Linked DNA regions of Homo sapiens: regions 2, 3, 4, 5 and 6 are each linked to region 1. Evidence: promoter capture Hi-C in 16 types of primary human blood cells and fetal thymus (Javierre and others, 2016). All regions are on one chromosome and are shown on one strand. The core of a region is centred on a gene start or on the middle of the fragment in contact, and the rest is flanking DNA. Distances in the headings are between cores, read along the strand shown.

Region 1 (2,914 bases), core at 1-2,500:
TTATGGGAGCATTTGCCTTATAGTTATGCCTATTCAAGTTGACACATTACAAAGGTACCACTGTTGACAAAAACATTTTAGGATCTATAATCTTAGTAGAGTGTCTCTAAGTAGCTAGTCACAATATCTCCTAGGAATCCTTTCTGGAACTTGGGTAGACCAGTATCTCAATTTTAATGATCACACGATAATTGGAGATGCTGAAAGAACCTGGGTGCCCAGTAGGAAAGTAGCCTAGATGATGATAGTCCCAAAGAAGATGGACTAGAAAAAAATAAAATGACACGTGGCAGACTACTGGTTGTTCTACAATATCCATTCTCCTGGATACTGGCCCAAACCATCCTCCTATCTCAGCCTCCCAAGTAGCTGGAACTACAGGCGTGTGTGCCACCCCGCCTGGCCGATGCGCGGTGGCTCACGCCTGTAATCCCAGGACTTTGGGAGGCCAACGCAGGCGGATCAATGGAGGTCGGGAGTTCGAGACCAGTCTGACCAACATGGGGAAACTGTCTCTACTAAAAATACAAAAATTAGCTAGGCGTCGTGACGCATGCCTGTAATCCCAGTTACTCAGGAGGCTAAGGCAGGAGAATAGCTTGAACCCAGGAGGCGGAGGTTGCAGTGAGCCGAGATTGTACCATTGCATTCCAGCCCAGGCAACAGTGTGAGACTCCGTCTCAAAAACAAAACAACAACAAAAAATAATAAAATAAAAGAAAGAATAAATAATCTCTACTGGGTTAGGAAATGGCCTTATGGAGAAGATGGCATTTGAGTAAGCTACTTAGGGTTTTTTGCTCTGTAAGTCGGTGTCAACGTCCCGTTTTCACGTGGTGGCCTGATCATTTTGTCTTATAGTGATGTCTTTGCGTGCATGTGCGCTCATCTCCTATATTGGACAGGGTCTAGAGCAGTTCCTGGCACAGAGTAATCACTCAATATTACATCACTATACTAAAAAATCATGATAGTAATTCTTGACGGGATAAATGAAGGCATGAATAAATGTATGAATTAACGAGTGGCAGTGAGCTCTTCAGGGGTGGTGGGTCTTGTCTCACTCGTCTTTGAGCTGCGGCCTCGCTGAGGGCATAGTGCGCACAACTGGCTGGTGTTCCAGATTCCACTGGCAGGGACCAGGATCGCAGCCCGAGCGCCGGGGCGGGAGGGATGACTCCGGACGGTAGGGGGCACCGGCGTGCGGCCCGGCCGAGCCCCCAGGTAGCTCCGCGCGCACAGCAGGACCGTCATTGACGCCATGAGCGCGCTGCTGCGGCTGCTGCGCACGGGTGCCCCAGCCGCTGCGTGCCTGCGGTTGGGGACCAGTGCAGGGACCGGGTCGCGCCGTGCTATGGCCCTGTACCACACTGAGGAGCGCGGCCAGCCCTGCTCGCAGAATTACCGCCTCTTCTTTAGTAAGTAGCTCCCGGAGGTTCGCCGAGCGGCGCACCGGAGAAACCTGGGTGGGGGATGGAATGGGGGACACTTGGGACGCCCCGCGCGGTCTCCCTTCTCTCTTTTTGGGGCCCTCAGCGGTAGCCGCGCGGTCCAGGCCACCTTACTTCCCGCGGGAGCGCGCACCGAGTCACGAGAACTGCCAGCGAGGAGGCGGCGGATCAAGACCCCAAAGCGGAGAGCAGAGGCGCAGGGCTGCCGGCTGGGGGGTAGATAGCGCCCTGTGCCCTGCCAGCCGCCCTCCCCGAGGGGTAGGCAGAGTGCAAGCGGCCACCCCGCGGCGGCCTGCAGCCATTAGCCGGCCCGGCCGCCGTTCCCGGTTCACACAACTCAGTGAGGAAGGGAAGGCAGAGCCCGCCCACACGCCGGCCTTCCTAGAGGCGTAAGAAACCTCCTACTGCGGGAGCTCCCTGACGTCGGAGAGGCAGGCGGAACTTTGCGGATGCCTAATCCAGCGCGTCTTCTTTTTTTGGAGGGACTCTGATGAAGGTTCTTTCCCCAGAAGCTTGACTTGGTACGCACAAGTTTACACCCTGAGTGTGATCCACCATCCAAAGCCTCGTTGGTTCCGGAGCAGCCCCTTTTCCTCCCCAAGCTGAACAAGCCCAGAAGGCTAAGCGACTTCGGGGGGGTCCCTGAGTTGCCGAGCTCAGAGAAAGGACCCAGGTCTTCGTGACTCATTGTTCCGTGTACCCCATTGTTTCACTGTGTACGTTAACCGTAACAGAAAATAGCGATGTCGGTCGCTTGCCTTCACTCCCCACTGACTGCAGAGCCTTGGAGTGGTAGTATCAAAGTGGGCCTTGCATTATCGCTCCCCTTTTCGGAGCACTGGCTCTGGAGGCTTTCAGTTCTAAGCAGGCCCTCGAGTTCTTCACGTCTTAACTCTGTGACCCCGGACGAGTTTAAGTTGCTAAGCCTTGTTTTTTCTCATCCGTAAAATAGGGCTGCAAGTATTACATGACATTATATATGTAAACTGATTAGTCACAGGGCCTAAAATATAAATTACTATTGTTAATACCGATAATCATTATAGATATTTGTAATTTATGAGAGATTTGCAGTTATGCTACATGAGTTTAGGGTCGAGGATTATTTTGTGGGAAAGAAGAGTTTGCCTAAAGTCGTGTGATTATAATGCAACTAGTACTAGAATTTCTATTTTCTTCAAAATTGGTTGCAGTTTTCACCCTATGCCACATATTTTCTTCTATCTTTGGTTAAGACTGATCAGGTGAACAGGAAGTCTCAAATTTCTGAATGGATTATGTTCTAAAAGGTTACCATGTGATGATTAATGGGAATAGTCAGAAAAAATTATGAAGTGGCAGTTCGCTTTTTAAGCAGATTGAAAAAAGGCCTGTCTACTGCAAGTATTCTAGATTTGCAATAAGTACGGTAATTAATAGATACCCAAATAATAAATATTTATGAAGTGTGCTAGACACTGTTA
Region 2 (2,914 bases), core at 250-2,749, 980 kb after region 1:
TGTTCACACATTTCATAATGTTTAAATGCCCTCTGCTTATAGGTAGTATCGCCCTCCCACCCATGATTTGCATGTCTTTAGCACTCCAATTGCCCTTTTCCTTAGGCGTTTGTCACCCCCGTCTTCCTTCTTTCCCTGGGTATCCTGGCTATTAATACATTTTCTCAGGAGGGTTATAAGAATAGGGGGGAGGAGCTGTGGTTTGCTGTGGGGAGGGAGGGAGCGGGGGTTGGGAGAGTTGGGGGGGATGGGCTGGGGGGGGTCACGTCTTGATGATTCTTATGCAAACGACCTGATGGAAGAATGTGGGAGCTTTCGGTGTCTGCGGTGGGTTAGTGAGGGAGGTTGTTTATTTTTAATCTTTTTCCTCGTGCAGCTCGTTGGAATGACTTTCTTTATTTTAGTTGTAACAGTTGGAGGATAATGCAAAGGAAGACGCTGCCTGGGAATTCACCGTCTGTGGAAATGAGCCCCAGAGAGGAATAAAGCAGCCCTCACCTTGCTCTCCCCACCCGAACCCACTTTCCCCACCCGCCTCGGCCCCCACCCCAACACCACCATCACTCCCTTCCCTCCCCCCCACCTTTCCCCCTTTTCCACCCAGGTGTCGGACCAGGCGGTCCCCACTTCCACCCTGCACCCCTTCTTCCCCCCCTGCACCATGAACACCAATGTCTGCGTGGAGCCCGGGCCGAGCCCGGAGGCCCCGGGCTTGCCCAAGGAAAGCCACTTGCCCGAGGGGGCTCTGAACAGCCTTGTGGATTACAACTCGGAAATGGAGCGCTACCGCTCCTTTGCCACCTCCTTCTACAAGACCAACGGGGGCGCCTTCCCACAGGCGGCCAAGATCGCGCGCATCACCACCCCCATCTTCCCCAGCAGCGCCGCCGCCGCCGCGGCCGCCGCGCGCATCGGCATGTCCCCCTGGAACTGCGACAACGCGGCCACCGCCGCCGCCGCCACCGCCATGCTCTGGGGCAGCGGCGGGGGCGGGGGCGGCGGCGGGGGGGGTGGCGGCGGCGGCGGCGGCGGCGGAGGCGGGGGCGGGGGTGGTGGGGGCGGCAGGAAATCCTCCTCCGCCGCCGCCTCCTCCTCCGCCTCCTCCTCCTCGGCGATCCTCCCCGCCGGCGGTGGCGGCGGCGGCGGCGGCGGCGGCAGCAGGACCAGCATGCACCACCGAAACGACTCCCAGAGGCTGGGGAAAGCTGGCTGCCCGCCAGAGCCGTCGTTGCAAATGGCAAATACTAATTTCCTCTCCACCTTATCCCCTGAACACTGCAGACCTTTGGCGGGGGAATGCATGAACAAGCTCAAATGCGGCGCTGCTGAAGCAGAGATAATGAATCTCCCCGAGCGCGTGGGGACTTTTTCCGCTATCCCGGCTTTAGGGGGCATCTCATTACCTCCAGGGGTCATCGTCATGACAGCCCTTCACTCCCCCGCAGCAGCCTCAGCAGCCGTCACAGACAGTGCGTTTCAAATTGCCAATCTGGCAGACTGCCCGCAGAATCATTCCTCCTCCTCCTCGTCCTCCTCAGGGGGAGCTGGCGGAGCCAACCCAGCCAAGAAGAAGAGGAAAAGGTGTGGGGTCTGCGTGCCCTGCAAGAGGCTCATCAACTGTGGCGTCTGCAGCAGTTGCAGGAACCGCAAAACGGGACACCAGATCTGCAAATTTAGAAAATGTGAAGAGCTAAAGAAAAAACCTGGCACTTCACTAGAGGTCAGAGGAGATGATTTCTTGTTTCCCAGTCTCCCCCCTTCCCTCCTCACTCCCTCTCCCCTTCAGGGATTCTTGTCTGGCTTCAAGATGCAGTACCCCTTCTCAGAAGCTTCATTCAGGTGGTAAGAGTTGTAGGTGGTTTGCGAAAGGCTTGGCCTCTCCACCACCCGCACCAGCTGCACTTCACGTGACACCGCCCTTCTGATAGAGAGAGTGCCCTCCTTTTTATCCCTGGGGGAAAAATAATGTAATTGAAGAATCAGAAGTTTCACATTCAATATGCTCAATATTTTCCCTTGGTGGTTTAAAATGCCCCCTCCTCCTCATTAAAAAGGGTGGGGCATCTTGCCCAAAGGACTGGACACATCACATCCTATACAAGTTTACTGGCTAAGTTAGTGGCCCATTTATAACAGTGAGGACACAGTTTGTGGTACACAAGCCTGTTCTCATTAAAAAACCGGTAACAAACCACACAGCAGTATTCAATGAAGTTGAAACACCTGGATTCAGAAGGGGATTTCCTACCCTTTTCTAGAATCATTTTTCTACTCATCAAGGCAGAATGTTTTCTATTTTATTTTCTGCGTATCTGATATTTTTGGAGAAAGCTGAAACTGTGTAGGAAGCGGATTTCTACCTGCAAATTTTGAGGAGATGTGACTTAGAATAAAGGGATACAATTAGTTAATTTCAGGGCAGATAAGAGTGATTTTGTTTAAAAATTATTTTATGTGGTTTTAGAATGAATAATTTCTAAAACTCAGTTACAAAAAAAGTATTTCCCCTGGGCTCTGCATTGGACAAAGTAACCATTTTGTGGTTACAAAGTTGGTGTATACACCAAGCACAGTTTTGGTTGATACCTTATATGGTCAATAATAGTTTCTTTTACCTATAGGTCTTTAAAACAGATATTGTACAGATGCTCACTAAAGTAATTGTTAAATTAGGTTATGAATTATGCTAAATACAGAGATTGATACCTTTGATAAAAATTTTGTATTGTGTCCTGATCAAAACAAAAATGGGGAAAAATGAAAAATCACAGGTAAATGACTTTGGTGGTATATTAAACAAAGAAATCTGGACAAGTACTTATAGTTAGTCTCGATAAAATTTACAGGGTAGATAATTAGATGTTCATATATACATGAGACTGTAGGTGGTGGGTTTAGCATTCTGTGCTTTAAC
Region 3 (2,914 bases), core at 122-2,621, 610 kb after region 1:
AAGAAAGGAACATCATATTAATATAACCACTGAACTCACATAAATACAATATGTTCTTCAAATTTCTCTACATGGAATAAGAATAGAGCTTGCAATTTTTTTTTTGTATTTAACTGATAGTGTTTATGGATAGCATTTAACTGATAGCATTTTCAGAACAATGGGTTGAGTTGAGGGGTGCTGTGGCAACCATTATATGGAGCCAGGCTACTGATCTGTACACAGAATGGCCTCCTAGTCTTGGCAAAGCTTTGAACCTCATGAGTGGGCCAGCTAATAGAACACGCCAAGAGACCATAGTCTAGCTGCTGCTGGAGAGCTTATATTGACTGCTGACGTTGATAATTATTCTGTTAACTTATATCGAGAAATACTTCCTCTCTAAAACCCCTAACACAGAGCAAGAATTATAATATCTACATCATTTTAGTACATTCCACAAAATAACAAGTCATGTACTGTATGAGTTAACTGTTCCATGTCCTCTAAGCACTTAGGTGGAAACTTGGTGACCCCCAAATATACTGGAAAATATTTTTTTCCCTGAACTTTTCTGTAAGAATTCTTAGAAGGTAGAGTGTCTGATTAATATTCTAGCATAGCAATACAAGTTTAGAGCCCTTAGTTGTGTGGAAAATATCTTAGGAGAAAACTGTCACAGAGATTTAACCCTTGGGATAGTATTTAGAGTGGAAACAAAATAATTACCTAGAGTGTTAGAACATTTTCCTGATCTTAAGTTTCTTTGAAAATAATATATTTTGAGGTCAGTAAGTCAGAGACTTCTAAGAAATAATCGAGAGGACCCAAGTTTGATGCTCACTGGCTGTTGCTTACAATTTTAAACAAGATAGTGATTAAGCTCTGTACAAAAAAATATAAAGCTATATCATTAGAAGAAGCTTTGTCTTGGGTTCGTGAAATGTTTTGAAATAATGTTTGCAATGAGTAAACTAGTTTCATATTGGCATTGTGATATAAAGCCTTCTTTAAAACAAATAAGCAAACAAACAAACACATACCCCTTAGGCTTGATACGTGTAAATGGTAGTTTAGAAGATGCCTTCCTTTTAAATCCTATTTGGCCAGAGAAAAAGGCTGCAGTTCTACACATTTCCAGCAGGGGTCAATATGCTTTCATCATTACTGAATGCTCAGTGAGCAAGCAGCAGAAGTGTTGATCCTAATTGGAGCAGACACAAGGATCTTCTATAATCCTCTGACATCCTTTTCAAATAATAATTCTTAGGTGGGTGGTGGGCTGGTGGCTGCAATGCCAGTGCAGGCTTCTCTACAATGAAGCCTAACCATTGTCAATTATTTTTGATGTATGCTAGCTTAACTTAAGTCTCTTCTTCCTGGCTTTTCCAACCCACAGAAGGGTATTCTTCCTCCTAATTATTGTCACAGTACCTAGGATGGTCAGAACAAGTGTGTTATTTTGGCTTGATGTGCTCTCCAAAACCCATTCCTTTCCTTTCCTGCCTCTCTGTGCTCTTCCTACAAAGTACGAAGAGCAAGCATATACTTTCAGTCAAATATCTGAGGAGTATTTTACTTATAACCTTAATTGCCATAGTCATTGGACTTTAACTCATTAAATGCCAGCATTTGGAGGCAACTGGAGATATGATAATGAGTATATATGATTATAGTTGCATATATATAGCTTCCAGTAGGTTAATAATTGGGACTAAATCCTCCTCCACCCACACACTTTCTAATAATTTGTTCAGGGGCTCTGCCAGCCAGTGATATTCAGGGAACAAATTGTCATCCTTTATGTGCATTTTAAAGACTGGCGTTTGCTGGAGACTCACACTGTCGTGCAGAAGCTTGAGTTCTCTGAGTCAAAAAAAAAAAAAACAAAAAAAAAAACAATGTATGTCCTGCCCCACATTCGTAAGCTCATATTTTACTCTCCTTGGCCCTGACTACAGCCCTTTCTGCTGAGCGGGGAAGCGAATGTCTCTGTGTAGAGACATTTTCAGAAATCCGATTCTGGAGAGCTGAGGAGTGTTGCGGCAGGAATGTATTACCAGGACACTTAGAAGGTGGTTAACTGCTTGAGTGCTGCTGCCTGCACTAGAGAGAGAAGGGAGGGACCGCAGTTGTAATATAGCTCCAGCTCCACTCAGCTTAGCCAAAGTGGGGTTTTAAAGCGGTGCCCTCATATATCTCTGTAGGTAGTCGGGGGTGGGGGTGTCATTTGCAAGGTAAAACATAGGTAAAAAGTAAGGACAGAGTTAGCACGGCAAAAGCAGCAGTTATTTATCTTGAACTAGGTTCACAGGGATTGAGATAATTTTCCACTTATATAGAGCTTGAGAGGCTCCTAAAAATAAATATTCTATCACAGATTTCAGTCAGATAGAAAGGAATATATTCATTCCTACATGTAGGTACATTTTAAATGTTCTCTTTAAAATTGTGGAGATTTCTTTTGCTTTCAGAGATTACCAGTACCCTTTAATGAATCAATAATAAAAACAAATTCATTTATCTCTGTTATTTGCAAATCTTGCTTTAAAATTCATATTTAAGCAAAGCAAGTGATGAAATTCTTTGATGGGACTACTCCTTATCTCCTTTACTTTAATTCTATGTTTACTTTAAAAACAAAACTTACATACCTTCCTCAAATTTAGAGTAAGGTATGAGGCATAAATGTAAGTTGATGGAGAGGACAGCAGCTATTTCAGCTTGGGTCTGACAGCCATCTGACAGGTGATACTCTATGTCTCTGACGGATAGTCAAGAGAAGCTGGGAGGAATTTTGAGCTCATTCTTGGCAGTTGCAGCAGCAGATTAATTTATTTTTTTTAAAGGTCATCGTTAGCATGAATGGAAAAATGGGTTGGATGCCTAATAATGCATCTCTTAAAAGAAGCATATATTTATTTAGTCAAGACGT
Region 4 (2,914 bases), core at 214-2,713, 560 kb after region 1:
GATTTTATAATATCTTGTATTGATTGGAAAATATTATTTCACTGAGTTATGTAATAGGCACATTTCCTTATATAATATTTTTTAAAATAACATTTGTTAATATCACCATGGATCTCATAAAAATTCTTTAAGTATTCAGAAGCTGTCAAGCTCACAGTAGTGGATACAAGTTTTCCAAAATTCTAATTTTCAGTTGAAAGCTCAGATTTTATCATTGGCACCAAATACCGTCAGGTTGTTTGCCTTCAAGTGACAGGCTCACTTCACTTATTTTCAAGAAAATGACTGCCAAATATCCAAGTATGAATAACCATATTTTGTTTATCACTTGTTCTTTCAAGCAAAAGTGGTATTCCACGAAAAAGAGACAAGTTCAGTTTGCAACTCAAACAATCACACATTGCTTTTCCTCAAGACAACCATTGTACTTGGGTATGCAGCAGAAGTGCTTTATGTGTTCTTTCCTTGTAGTCCCACAGAATACTTAAAAGATTTGTAACTCAAGTGTTGAGCTTTAAGAAAATGCATAAATTTTAACTGTTTCATTAGGGTATTCTTAAGCAAAACTTTTTAAACCTGTGAGATCATGGTGATGAAAGTGATGCAATGACATAATAAAATGATATGATACAATTTGGTAATTTTGCCTTGATTTATGCTAAAGAACTGATATGGTTTTGCTGTGTCACAACCCAAATCTCATCTTGAATTGTAGCTCCCACAATGCCCACATGTCATGGGAGGGACCTAGTGAGAGGTAATTGAATGATGGGGGTGAGTCTTTCTCATGACAGTGAATAAGTCTTATGAGATCTGATGGTTTTATAAAGAGGAGGTCCCCTGCAGAAGCTCTCTTTTTCTTGACTGTTGCCATCCATGTAAGACATGACTTGCTCCTCCTTGCCGTCTACCGTGATTTGTGAGGCCTCCCCAGTCATGTGGAACTGTGAGTCTATTAAACCTCATTTCTTTATAAATTACCCGGTCTCAGGTATGTCTTTATTAACAACATGATAACAGATGAATACAAGCACCAACAGTTTTACTCACCATTGCTTTGGCACCATTGGTGCAAATGTCAATACAGTAGAAAAAGCAAATACATCTTAATATTATTATGAAAATAATTTTGACCTCATGGATCCACTAAAAGAGTCTTTGGGATTTCCAGAATTGTGCAGATTATGCTTTGAAAACTGCTGCTTGTGGGGACTGGTTTTAAAAGAACCACAGTGTTACTGTGTCATAGCTCTTATTGGCTTCCTTTGGTAAGGTGTTTCAAGAAAGAGATGAACTCAGACAGAAATGGCTAGTTTCCAAGCCAGATGGAAAACAATAGAAAGTATCCAGACTTGAGTGAACGATGGTGGAAATCCATCTGCTTCTAGATCCCACACAGAACCACAAGGCCCAGAAAGACTTTTTAGCTGAACACTATGACTTAGATACAGATCAGATTAATGGCCAAAGAGAGCTGGAGAGAGAGAGAGAGAAAAAAAAAAAAGGAGAAAAGACCTGAGAATTGTACATAGAAGCAAATACAACAGAAGCCTACCAAGATTTTGAAGAACTTGTATTGTCAAGAAATCCAAAATATCTGATTAAAACAGCTTTGTCTGACCTTTAAAATCACCTTTTTACTTTGGCTACACTCATTTCAGCTGTGTCCAAAAGGAATAAATAAACAATAAGAACTTCTAAAGGGAAAGGCTGAGGGTCAAACAAGAAAAAGACAAAAGACTTATTTCCAGAGAGCAGAATTAAAATCTAATCCACAAATTTATCCTCTCCCCAGGCTAGGGGACATCTCGAGGCCTGCCAAACAGGATTGTAGAATTGTAGTGGCCTAGTGAACATGTACATCCTCTGATTCCCTTTTTTGAATGGGAATTTTAATTGTAGTTACGCTGTCCCTGCTCCACCACTGTATATACAGCAAGCCCATAACCAAACTCCACTCTCCCTTCCCTCACCTGCCTGCCAGATACAAGGGTTTGGGGGAAATTTTAAGCTACTAGGGGGTGGTATAACTACTAGAAGGAAGAAGCCTGGTCACCTGAATGAAGCAGATCCTGTCCACCAACCTGTGCTGGATTGTGACATGAACAAGAAATACATGTTTATTGTGCTAAACCACTGAGATTTTGGTTCCAGCATTTGCCACAAACATTCTTTATCACAACACTGAGAAGACTCTGAATAATATGGAGGCTATTCCATTGATCTGCCCGGAGGAACTGAACTATGGCAGTGGCAGAAATAAGAAGAAATACATATTTTAGAGGTAGAACCAATAAGCTATCACTAGTGGGATAGCAGAGCAGAATGAGGTAGAGTAAGGAGTCTGGGATGTGTTCCAGCTTTCTATCTTGGGTTAAAGTGGGTGGAGTTTTGGATGGCACTCAGAACAACCCAGTGAATTTATCCAATAGGCAGGAGCTTGGGACAGAGATGTGGAAAGCAGGCACATATAGGGCAATCATCAGCTTATAGGTGATGGTTGAAGCCATGAGGCAGGAGGAATAGTGGATAAAATATTTTGGGAAGACAGTTCAGAGGGAGAAGAGCACAGAGGTCGCTTAATGAACAGCAGAGAGAGCAGTCTGCAAAAGAGTGAAAAATGGACCCCTAGAAAGGAAAAAAAAAAGGCAGAAAAGGATAGGTCACAGAAACCAAAATAGAATTAAAGAGCACTTTAAAAACACTTTAAACACTTTAAATTAAAAGAACACTTTTAAGAACTGTGAAATGATAAACAATCAAATATGTCAAAAAGGTGAAATATAATCAGAGCTAAATATTTATGAAATTTTAGAATTAAAAGAGTATGGGTGATCTTCATGAAGATAATTTCAATGGAGCATTGATACAAAATTCAGATCATTATGTGACAAGTGTCTTTTGATTTTATAGA
Region 5 (2,914 bases), core at 263-2,762, 540 kb after region 1:
GTAGGTACCGGAGGGAATCTCCTGGTCTGCAGGTTGCGAAGACCGTGGGAAAAGCATATTATCTTGGCCAGGGTGCACTGTTCCTTACAGCACAGTCCCTCAGGGCTTTCCTTGGGTAGAGGAGGGAGTTCCCTGACCCCTTGTGCTTCCTGTGTGAGGTGACATCCCACCCTGCTTCAGCTCACTCTCCATGGGCTGCACCCGCTGTCTAACCAGTTCCAGTGAGATGAGCTGTGCACCTCAGTTGGAAATGCAGAAATCACCCACCTTCTGCGTTGATCTCGCTGGGAGCTACAGACCGGAGCTGTTCCTATTCAGACATCTTGCCAGCCACAATCCAACAGTGGCTTTAGTAAATAAGGAATTATTTTTTCCTACAGAGCAAGAAGTAAGAATATAGAAAATTGCTGGCATTGCTCCCATTGTTCATGATGCTGTCAAGGATATAGGCTCTTTCTACCTTGCATTCTCCTTCCTTCATTTGCTGGCTTTTTCCCCTTTGGCTGAAGGCCCCACGGTTTTTAATATGGCTACCACAACACCAGGCATCATATCCATGCAGGAAGAAGAAGAAAGAGGGAAGGGGAGAGTCCAGCTCCATTGGTCTCTTTTATTAGAAAATATCCCTCCTAGTTGCAAAGGAGAGTGAAAAAATGACTATATGGCAAAGGGAAAGAACATTGTGATTATCACCTTAGAATGGTTGTTCATCACCTCCTAGAGATGAGCACATTGCTCTTGTATACAGACAAGTTCTGATAGCAGAAACAGGGGAGATTAGTCATTGATTGGCAGTTTTTAGTCTTCCACTGTGGAGGAAGAAAATGGAATTGGTGGCAGTCTTGAAGGCCTTTTTGGTAGGTTTAGGAGTTTCAGCTTTATCAACAAATATGTAGTATTTAGTATGTGTCTCCAGTAATTGAATGTGTGTGTTGTCATAAACCATAAGATATTTCAAGAGTTTTAGGTTGAGTTATGTTTATAAAAATTTTTTATCATATTCTAGTTTTATGTACTAGAAAAAATACTTGTCAAATAGGCCTTACATAGGGAGGGTTTTTACAACTTACTTAGAAAAATAACCAGAAATGGTGGACCTATTTATCCACCAGAAGCCGGATGTATTCTGGAGCAGCCTATATGGTTTTAGAATTTCATCCAAATTTGATGCAAGGAGATGCAAGTACTCTCTACAACCTGGCAATGCCAAGTCCCCCAATACATGCCCTTAGTAGGATTTGTGAACACTTAGCCGACAAGTATATACTCAGTGTCTCATGTCTAAATGTGACACAAAAACAGCAATGAGATACTTTTGGAATGACATTTCATCTCATACACAGAATTTGCCTGACTATATGTAATTATGTTAATACTTCAAGTGTTCATTTAATTATCTTTCTGTTAAAATGTATTTAACTTATCATTAAAGTACCAATAATCTTTAGACCAATAAAGTAGATAGTAGGAGGTCTAAAATACAATGATTTATACTATTTTGGAAAAGAAAAATCCCTTTAAGGAAAGTGTTACAAATAAAATTTCTTTAACTCTTTAATCAGGTATTTTCCTACTTAGTGAATATTTATGTGTATGGAAATTCATCACAGGATTGCTTTTATGTCTTTGCTTTTAATACTTGGTGCTAAATTTTAGTGATTATGTAGATTGGTTAAAGTTTTGACCTTTTGGAAGTTTGTTTTCTTGTTGTTGTTATTGATTTTAATTACTTTGTAATAAATTCTAGATCTTTGTAAGATATGTGACCATTATTGGCATCAGTTTGTAAAAGCTATAAGCCATAGTGGTTTCCTTATATGCAAATGAAAGAATGCAGAGGTATACACAGAGCGATTCAGAGGCATATTCAGGAAAGGGGGAGATCATTACATCTTAACCTATTTCTATTTTACCATGTTCCTTTCCTGTGGGAAAACATGAAAATGTGGTGATTCATTAAGACATGTTAACCAGGAAGTAGAGTCCCTATGGCCATTTCACATCTAGAAGAAAAATTTTATAACTGTTGCTAAATAGATTTAATCAATAGGAACTAAGACTTGAGATAATGACAGATAAACAGAGGTACAAGTACTAGAGATATTGCCGTCAAAAATATTTGGTGATTTTTAACTGACCTCAAAGACCATCTACAAGCATTTTATTAGGATTCCTATGTTGTCATTCTCATATAACAACTTGATACCACCATTTCATGTAACATTATTCTGCCATATCTACTAGAAATTAAGAATTGTTGGGGGGCTAGCTAATGTGCTAGGTCCAGAATGTACATTTTTGGAGCAATCATATAAGGATCTAGCTATAAGGATTGTGGATCCATATGAATTCTGTAGGTCATCTCAAAATCTCTGCATATCTAACTTTATTTTTTTCTTTTCTTTCTCTCTTTCTCTCTCTCTCTTCCTTTCCTTTCTCTTTCTTTTTCTCTTTCCTCTTTCCTTTCCTTTCTCTCCACAGAGTCTAACTCTGTCACCTAAGCAGGAGTACAGTGGCATGAACATAGCTTGCTGCAGCTTCAAACTCCTATGCTCAAGTGGTTTTCCTGCCTCAGCTTCCTGAGTAACTAGGACTACAGGTGCGTGCCACCATGCCCAGCTAATTTTTGTATTTTTTGTAGAGATAAGATCTTACTATGTTACCCAGGATGGTCTTGAAGTCCTGGCTTCAAGTGATCATCCAGCCTTGGTCTCCTAAAGTACTGGGATTACAGGCATGAGCTACCATGCCTGGCCGGGATATCTAAGTTTTGTGTGTAATAACCTTATTTCTTGTGTTGAGGCTTTTCTCTACTATTATATATAATAGTGTAGAAAAAGGATATATATATATATATATACATCTCTCTCTCCTTTTGTTTCTGTGATGTATAGATCACTCACTTCAATTTTCT
Region 6 (2,914 bases), core at 152-2,651, 520 kb after region 1:
GTGGCCTGAAGTTTTGATGATTGGAAAAAACAAGCATTGCTGTTTTTTTTCCTTCCAATTTGGAAAGGTATCATATATTTTTAACTTGAGACCCCTTAGTATAAATAAAATGCATCCTTGCTTTTTACCACATTCTTCATTCTAATATATAAGGTGCTAGTGTGCAGAAGGGAATATGAAATCAGGTATGATTCCAAAAATGCATATGCAAGACACATGGATAAAATCATAAAATTACACTAGAACCAATTCTAACTCCTACATGACTAGAATCTATGGAACATGGTTATGTGTCTCCTGGTTAAGTATCAACCACCCTCTGGATGTAGTTTTAGTGAAGTTTATATCCCTATAATTGTTGTTTGATAGGTAGATTTTACCTTTTGTGGATAAGTATGCTCTGTGATCAGAATTAAAGGTGTGTTCATCATTACTTTTATCTGATTTTTCACTTTGTCAAAGAAGATTAGAATAGCATGTGGAACTTGATTCAACTGTGATATTTTGATATATTAAGAAATATATATTTGGGTTTTATCCCTAGTTTCTGGCATAGAACTTCTAAAAGCCTTGGAATTTCCCTAGTGATGGGAGTAAGAGTAGTTTCTTATTCATAATAAGCTCCTGTCACATACCTGAGTTTATGCTAATAAGACGACCTGTGGTGGGTCCCTAGATAGCTTCAGGATGGGAGCTGGTTGCCAGACGAAACAACCATATGATTAAAGGGTTGGAACTTTGAGCCCAGCCCCTGACCCCTGGAGAGAGGAGAAAGGCTGGAGATTGAATTAATCACAAATGGTTAATAACTCAGTCAATCTCATGTATTCATAGGGGAATCTCATGTATTCATAGGGGAATCTCCATAAAACTCCTAAACAATGGTATTTAAGGAGATTCTGGCTTAGAGCTGTTCAAGTAAATTATTGAGCCTGAGGAGGGGGTCATGGAAACTCTTGATTTATAGTCCATTGAACAGAACTATAGGAGACTCAGGACTTGCATTGGTATCTGAAGTGAGGGTAGTCTTGTGGGACTGAGTAGGGTCTGTATTAACTCTGGTTAGTTAGTGCTAAAAATAAATGGAATCATTGGATACCCAGTTGGTGTCTGGAGAGTTAGAGAATTAGTTGTTGGTATGGGAAAAACAAAACAAAACAAAACTATGCATTTGATGTCAGAAATATGGGTAGAAACAGACCATGGTATCAATAATACTGATTTCTTCCAAGAATCATCCCCTTAAAGGGTTTACAAATGGATAAAATTGATATTTTCCTAATTATTCTCATTTAGAGATATTGTTTCAAACTCACAGATATTCATTTCCTCTTTAAGATAAATTAGCAATGAGTGAACTCTTTCTCAGTTTTCTAGCTCTTCCTCTAATAATCATCTTCACTCCAAAATGGTAGCTAGTGGCCTGTCTATGAGATACATTTTTAAAAATATGATTGGATTTAAAATACATTGCCTATTTTATGTGCTGGATTTATGTAATAACCACCATTTATTGAGTGCTATAGACTGGTCACTGCGTTTTAATCTTCAATTCTGAGTTAAGTAGCATTATCCCCATTTTGCAACTGAAAAGACTGATGATTGGAGTGGTTAAGTAACCTGCCTAGTGTCATTAGTAAGTAAGAGGGATTTTCTGAAGAGGTGGAAGTGAATATTGATGGGAAAGGGAAAGGTGATCAGGCAGATGCTATGGTCTGAACGTATCTCCCAAGATTTGTATGTTGAAACTTAACTTGCCATGGTGGAGCCCTTAGGGATGGGATGAGTGCCTTTATAAAAGAGGTACCAGGGAACTGTCACCCTCACTTTTTGCTCTTCTGCCTTAGGTGAGGACATGGCAAGAAGGACCTCACCAGACACCAAATGCCAACACCATAATTTTGGACTTCCCAACTTCTAGAACTGTAGAAAATACTGCCCAGTCTCACGTATTTTGTTAAAGAAACACAAACAGACTGAGACAACAAATGAGTAGAAGTTAGTGTGAAGGGCAGTAAGAAGAACTGGCCATATTTAGTCTGAGGTATATTGAGTTGAGAACATGTTACTTATCTTCAGTTAACTAAATTTTGGGGCTTATAGTTCTTCTTGCGTAATTCCAAAGGGAAGAAAAATGGTGAGTGTATTTTTGCTTGCATATAATGATATAGAGGAAAATATACTTCTAGGAAGCAGAATTCTATACTCATTTTCACCCCATCCATAAGATGCCCACATATAAGTTTTCCGAAGAAGGACTTATTAATTGTAATTGTCATAAGATGACTGGATAGGATCATCGCAGACAACTTTTTCTCTAAAAGTGTTTAAATAGACGCCAGACTAATTGCAAATAATGTTATAGAAAATATTAGATTTAGAGGTTTGGATAAATAGACCTTAGATTCTATGAAAGTAAGGATATAGAGCGTGTTTTAAAACAATAATAGTTAAAAAAAAAATGGTTTCTGAGCTGGGTGCCGTGGCTCACCCTTGTAATCCCAACACTTTGGGAGGCTGAGACAGGTGGATCACAAAGTCAGGAGTTCGAGACAAGCCTGGCCAACATGGTGAAACCCTGTCTCTACTAAAAATACAAAAATTAGCTGGGCATGGTGGCATGCACCTGTAGTACCAGCTACTAGAGAGGCTGAGGCAGGAGAATCACTTGAACCCGGGAGGTGAAGGTTGCAGTGAGCTGAGATCATGCCACTGAACACCAGCCTGAGTGACAGAGTGAGACTCCATCTCAAAAAAAAAAAAGTTTCTGTATTTATGTCCTATAAAATCTTACTGTGCTATCTATAACTTTCTAAGTAATATCCATTTTTTTCCGATGTGTACCAAACCTTTGTGAAGCAGTGGAATGTTTATGAAGCAGTATGATAAGCAGCTCTCCAGGCTGACATAGCTA

What was found. Contacts are between HindIII fragments. The CHiCAGO score rates a contact against its expected background, and 5 or more counts as called.
Region 2: a contact is called between the fragment with the promoter of CXXC4-AS1 here and the fragment with the promoter of PPA2 in region 1, in 4 of 17 cell types (naive CD8 T cells, megakaryocytes, total CD8 T cells and 1 more). The highest score is 11.1, in naive CD8 T cells.
Region 3: a contact is called between a fragment that was not itself captured here and the fragment with the promoter of PPA2 in region 1, in 4 of 17 cell types (fetal thymus, M0 macrophages, M2 macrophages and 1 more). The highest score is 10.2, in fetal thymus.
Region 4: a contact is called between a fragment that was not itself captured here and the fragment with the promoter of PPA2 in region 1, in 2 of 17 cell types (neutrophils and megakaryocytes). The highest score is 5.2, in neutrophils.
Region 5: a fragment that was not itself captured here is called in contact with the fragment with the promoter of PPA2 in region 1 in 7 of 17 cell types (fetal thymus, M2 macrophages, M1 macrophages and 4 more); the score reaches 13.2 in fetal thymus.
Region 6: a contact is called between a fragment that was not itself captured here and the fragment with the promoter of PPA2 in region 1, in 1 of 17 cell types (naive CD8 T cells). The highest score is 5.1, in naive CD8 T cells.

The regions. Positions count from the first base shown.
Region 1 is chr4:105,472,398-105,475,311 of GRCh38, reverse strand. It overlaps PPA2 (inorganic pyrophosphatase 2), which reads left to right and starts at 1,250. Exons shown (of 12, transcript NM_176869.3): 1 at 1,250-1,418. The coding sequence starts at 1,262. RefSeq lists a silencer at 1,060-1,269 and enhancers at 1,490-1,609, 1,900-2,069. The HindIII fragment of the contact is 2,034 bases long and covers 1-1,965 here.
Region 2 is chr4:104,489,550-104,492,463 of GRCh38, reverse strand. CXXC4-AS1 (CXXC4 antisense RNA 1) reads right to left here and starts at 1,499. Exons shown (of 10, transcript NR_125926.1): 1 at 1,404-1,499. It overlaps CXXC4 (CXXC finger protein 4), which reads left to right. Exons shown (of 3, transcript NM_025212.4): 2 at 405-1,720. The coding sequence starts at 662. RefSeq lists an enhancer at 83-132. The HindIII fragment of the contact is 2,978 bases long and covers 1-1,831 here.
Region 3 is chr4:104,858,925-104,861,838 of GRCh38, reverse strand. No RefSeq gene overlaps it. Among named protein-coding and RNA genes, the nearest start is that of TET2, 290 kb to the left of the region's middle. The HindIII fragment of the contact is 933 bases long and covers 905-1,837 here.
Region 4 is chr4:104,911,044-104,913,957 of GRCh38, reverse strand. No RefSeq gene overlaps it. Among named protein-coding and RNA genes, the nearest start is that of TET2, 230 kb to the left of the region's middle. The HindIII fragment of the contact is 7,130 bases long and covers 1-2,914 here.
Region 5 is chr4:104,927,680-104,930,593 of GRCh38, reverse strand. No RefSeq gene overlaps it. Among named protein-coding and RNA genes, the nearest start is that of TET2, 220 kb to the left of the region's middle. The HindIII fragment of the contact is 4,532 bases long and covers 1-2,914 here.
Region 6 is chr4:104,951,681-104,954,594 of GRCh38, reverse strand. No RefSeq gene overlaps it. Among named protein-coding and RNA genes, the nearest start is that of TET2, 190 kb to the left of the region's middle. The HindIII fragment of the contact is 4,868 bases long and covers 1-2,914 here.